Linked DNA regions of Homo sapiens: region 2 is linked to region 1. Evidence: promoter capture Hi-C in human tissues and cell types (Jung and others, 2019). All regions are on one chromosome and are shown on one strand. Each heading gives the region's core, a stretch centred on a gene start or on the middle of the fragment in contact. The rest is flanking DNA. Distances are from core to core; before and after follow the strand shown.

Region 1 (2,700 bases), core at 196-2,695:
TTGGCTAATATATTATTTTAAAGGACATATCCCACCATAGCCAATTCCACCTCTAAGAATATTTCTGACAGATATACCCACATGCATGCACAAAGACAATCCACGGGATCCAGTCACATTATTCCTAACCCAAAGCAACTGGGAAACACTTCAAGGTCCATCAGTGAAGGCCCGCATAGGCTAACCTCTGTAATAACCAAATCTCAGTGGCAGTGTCCAACCAGGTGCTTGTGGGCGACCTTCCAACAGGCACCGCATTGCCCGGCTGCCAGGCCGGGCCTGTGTACTGTCCCCGCATCCCATACAGCTAGCACTTATTCACCCTCAAAAGCGTCCCATCCTGAAAATAAACTCTTGCCCACTTGGTGCTTCAGGAACCTGGGCTTCTTCCACTAATAGCTCTCCCAGATGCCCCAGTGCGCAGGTGGGGCCGTCCTCTAGGACCAGGCCTGGCTGGGGCGCACCCACACCTCCTTGGCCAGACGCCATGGGCCGGGAAGGGGCTCTGGCCCTTGCGGGAATGAGGGCGCCTAGCATAGGTGTGCAAGTGGGCAGCCCCCACCGTGGGGTCCTTAAGTAAGCTGGAGCCTGTGAGCCAGGACAGTCAGGAGTTGCAACCTTGGTGATTTCTAGGAAGACAGAAAATGGGGTCAAGGGCCGGGTGTGGTGGCTTATGCCTATAGACCCAGCACTTTGGGAGGCCGAGGCAGGCGGATCACCTTAGGTCAGGAGTTCGAGACCAGCCTGACCAACAGGGCGAAACCTCGTCACTACTAAAGGTACAAAAATTAGCCAGGCGTGGTGGCGCACACCTGTAATCCCAGCTACTCAGGAAGCTGAGGCAACAGAATCGCTTGAACCCGGGAGGCAGAGGTTGCAGTGAGCTGAGACCACATCACTGCACTCCAGCCTGGGTGAGAACCTGTTAAAAAAAAAAATAAGAAAATGGGGTCAAGAAACGGTGGGAGGAGGGCAGATTTCATGAACCTGCCTGCTATGATGTGGCTGCATTTCCATCATGCATTGTCCTAAAAAAAGAAAAAGAAAAAAATAAAATGTAGACGTGGAGGGATGGGGGAAATTGCACAGGCCGGTCCAGGCTGTGAGGCTGCCCCCTACCAGGGACGACGAGGGCCAGCTCCGCCGCGCCGTAAGGAAACTGGCCAAGGGAACCCCTTGAATCTGGCGAGGGCCCGCCATGAGACGCTCGGGGAACCAGACTGCCGAGCCCCCCTCTCTGGGCCGACGCCAGCCCGGCTGTGGACTGGAGAAAACCGCAAGGCCACCTGCAGAAAGAAAAGAAGGCCATCGCGCCTACGCAGCTGAGCACCCATACTCCGCCCGCGCCTGCGCAACTGGGTCCCCCGACCCCCACCTCCTCTCCCGCCTGCGCATGCGCGGCTGGGTGCGCCCCCCCGCCCAGCCTGTGACGCCACGTGCATGGGGCGGAGCCCAGGCCCTAGGGAATCGTGGGGTCGTATCCCGCGGGTGGAGGCCGGGGTGGCGCCGGCCGGGGCGGGGGAGCCCAAAAGACCGGCTGCCGCCTGCTCCCCGGAAAAGGGCACTCGTCTCCGTGGGTGTGGCGGAGCGCGCGGTGCATGGTAAGCGGCGGGCCGGGGCGCTGGCGGGGGCGGCCGGGGATCACCGACTGTAGGCGGGCCTCCCCCACGCGGGCGCGCTGCGCTCCGGAGGACGGCCTCGGGGTCACTCGCACCCCGGGTCCCACCTCCTGCTGCCTTCCTGTCCAGGCTCCATTAGGGCTCCCTGGATGTCTGGGCTCCGCTGACCGGTGGGGGGCAAGTCCAGTGTTTTGGGCCACAGGGCGGGCCAAATAGCAGGGGCCTGTAGCCCCAGGGGGCCCCAGCCCTGCTGCGTTCATTCATTCAGCCCGCTTTTGCGGACCCGCCCCCAGTCTGCGTCAGGGACAGACCCCTCCGCCCTGGATGAGCCCGGCGGGGAAGCTTCGCGTAGCAGTTTCTGGGAAACAGGTAGGATCAGGCCGCTCGGACAGGACTGAGGGTGTAAGGACGATTCACCCTGGCATTGGGGTGGTGTCCCGAGGAGCTCATAGGTGGTCAGGGCGGTTCTGCCCGAGCTGACCTGTGAGCCGCGAATGCCCTGGACCGAGGGAGGGAGAGCCCCCTAGGTGGACAGACTAGACTCCTTCAGTGGAAAACATTCAACAGCCAGGAGAGCGTGGAAGAGGAAGGAGAGATGGGAGGGCCCAGGGGAGCGTGGAAGGGAGGGTGTTTTTATTATAAGTGCACCTGTAAGTGCAAAGTGCAAAGGAAGCAGCCGCCGGGAAGTGCCTGGGCAGCTCTGGGTGTCCCTCCAGGCACCTGTATTCCAGCCTTACCTGCGCGAAGCCACACATCCCACGTCACACAGGATACGGGGAAGTCAGCCATAGCCTGCAGGCGGGGAATCTGAAACCTCGCGCAGGAGTTCCTTGGGAGAGGTGGATTACAAGGACTCTTCCTCCCACCCGCTGTGCAAGAGCCATGGGCGGCCGGTAGTCATTTTTGAAGGACCTGGCAAGCACTGTACAAATCTCAAAATTGCTTTTTGTCCCCCTCCCCTTGCCTTGGAGAGAGTGGCTGGCTAGTGTGTGTGTCGTCTGCCTCCTGAAGGTTCGGGTAAAGGACCAGGGAGGTGGGCAGCCCTTTGTGTCAGGAGATCTGGAAGCGCCTCCCCTCCCAC
Region 2 (2,700 bases), core at 124-2,623, 87 kb before region 1:
AGATTTTGTCACCACCAGGCCTGCCTTACAAGGGCTCCTGAAGGAAGCACGAAACATGGAAAGGAACAACCAGTACCAGCCACTGCAAAAACATGCCAAATTGTAAAGACCATTGATGCTAGGAAGAAACTGCATCAACTAATGAGCAAAATTACCAGCTAACATCACAGTCACAGGATCAAATTCACACATAACAATACTGACCTTAAATGTAAATGGGCTAAATGCCCCAATTAAAAGACACAGACTAGCAAATTGGATAAAGAGTTAAGAACAATCAGTGTGCTGTAGTCAGGAGACCCATCTCACATGCAGAGACACACATGGGCTCAAAATAAAGGGATGGAGGAAGATATACCAAGCAAATGGAATACAAAAAAAAAAAGCAGGGGTTGCAATCCTAGTCTCTGATAAAACAGACTTTAAACCAACAAATATCAGAAAAGACAAAGAAGGTCATTACATAGTGGTAAAGGGATCAATTCAATAAGAAGAGCTAACTATCATAAATATATATGCACCCAATACAGGAGCACCCAGATTCATAAAGCAAGTCCTAAGAGACCTACAAAGAGACTTAGACTCCCGCACCATAATAATGGGAGACTTTAACACCCCACTATCAACATTAGACAGATCAATGAGACAGAAAGGTAACAAGGATATCCAGGAATTGAACTCAGCTCTGCACCAAGCAGACCTAACAGACATCTACAGAACTCTCCACCCCAAATCAATGGAATATACATTTTTCTCAGCACCACATTGCACTTATTCCAAAATTAACCATGTAGTTGGAAGTAAAGCACTCCTCAGCAAATGTAAAAGAACAGAAATTATAACAAACTGTCTCTCAGACCACAGTGCAATCAAACTAGAACTCAGGATTAAGAAACTCACTCAAAACCACACAACCACATGGAAACTGAACAACCTGCTCCTGAATGACTACTGGGTAAATAAAGAAATGAAGGCAGAAATGAAGATGTTCTTTGAAACCAATGAGAACAAAGACACAACATACCAGAATCTCTGGGACACATTTAAAGCAGTGTGTAGAGGGAAATTTACAGCACTAAATGCCCACAAGAGAAAGCAGGAAAGATCTAAAATTGACACCCTAACATCACAATTAAAAGAACTAGAGAAGCAAGAGCAAACACATTCAAAAGCTAGCAGAAGGCAAGAAATAACTAAGATCAGAGCAGAACTGAAGGAGACAGAGACACAAAAAAACCCTTAAAAAATCAATGAATCCAGGAGCTGGTTTTTTGAAAAGATCAACAAAACTGATAGACCACTAGCAAGACTAATAAAGAAGAGAAGAGAGCAGAATCAAATAGACACAATAAAAAATGATAATGGAGATATGACCACTGATCCCACAGAAATACAAACTATCATCAGAGAATACTATAAACACCTCTACGCAAATAAACTAGAAAATCTAGGAGAAATGGATAAATTCCTGGACACATACACCCTCCCAAAACTAAACCAGGAAGAAGTTGAATCCCTGAAGAGACCAATAACAGGCTCTGAAATTGAGGCAATAATTAATAGCCTACCAACCAGAAAAAGTCCAGGACCAGACGGATTCACAGCTGAATTCTACCAGAGATACAAAGAGGAGCTGCTACCATTCCTTCTGAAACTATTCCAATCAATAGAAAAAGAGGGAATCCTCCCTAACTCATTTTATGAAGCCAGGATCATCCTGATACCAAAGCCTGGCAGAGACACAACGAAAAAGAGAATTTTACACCAATATCCCTGATGAACACCGAAGCAAAAATCCTCCACAAAATACTGGCAAACCGAATCCAGTAGCACATCAAAGAGCTTATCCACCACGATCAAGTCCATTTCATCCCTGGGATGCAAGGCTGCTTCAACATACACAAATCAATAAAATTAATCCATCATATGAACAGAACCAAAGACAAAAACCATATGATTATCTCAATAGATGCAGAAAAGGCCTTCAAAAAAATTCAAGAGCCCTTCATGCTAAACACTCTCAATAAATTTGGTAGTGATTGGACATATCTCAAAATAATAAGAGCTATTTATGACAAACCCACAGCCAATATCATACTGAATGGGCAAAAACTGGAAGCATTCCCTTTGAAAATGGCACAAGACAGGGATGCTCTCTCTCACCACTCCTATTCAACATAGTGTTGGAAGTTCTGGCCAGGGCAATCAAGAAGGAGAAAGAAATAAAGGATATTCAATTAGGAAAAGAGGAAGTCAAATTGTCCCTGTTCGCAGATGACATGATTGAATATCTAGAAAACCCCATCGCCTCAGCCCAAAATCTCCTTAAGTTGATAAGCAACATCAGCAAAGTCTCAGGATACAAAATCAATGTGCAAAAATCACAAGCATTCTTATACACCAATAAACAGACAAACAGAGAGCCAAATCATGAGCGAACTCCCATTCACAATTGCTACAAAGATAATAAAATACCTAGGAATCCAACTTACAAGGGATGTGAAGGACCTCTTCAAGGAGAACTACAAACCACTGCTCAATGAAATAAAAGAGGACACAAACAAACAGAAAAACATTTCATGCTCATGGATAGGAAGAATCAATATCGTGAAAATGACCATACTGCCCAAGGTAATTTATAGATTCAATGCTATCCCCATCAAGCTACCAATGACTTTCTTCACAGAATTGGAAAAAAGC

What was found. Contacts are between HindIII fragments. The study calls those that stand out against the background at their distance.
Region 2: a fragment that was not itself captured here is called in contact with the fragment with the promoter of ENTPD6 in region 1 in 2 of the 25 tissues and cell types used here (H1 embryonic stem cells and aorta).

What each region holds. Positions count from the first base shown.
Region 1 is chr20:25,194,267-25,196,966 of GRCh38, forward strand. It overlaps ENTPD6 (ectonucleoside triphosphate diphosphohydrolase 6), which reads left to right and starts at 1,446. Exons shown (of 15, transcript NM_001247.5): 1 at 1,446-1,601. LOC101926889 (a long non-coding RNA gene) reads right to left here and starts at 2,626. Exons shown (of 6, transcript NR_109994.1): 1 at 2,357-2,626. RefSeq lists enhancers at 902-1,141, 1,992-2,061, 2,442-2,591 and a silencer at 1,282-1,701. The HindIII fragment of the contact is 8,888 bases long and covers 1-2,700 here.
Region 2 is chr20:25,107,194-25,109,893 of GRCh38, forward strand. No RefSeq gene overlaps it. Among named protein-coding and RNA genes, the nearest start is that of VSX1, 26 kb to the left of the region's middle. The HindIII fragment of the contact is 9,109 bases long and covers 1-2,700 here.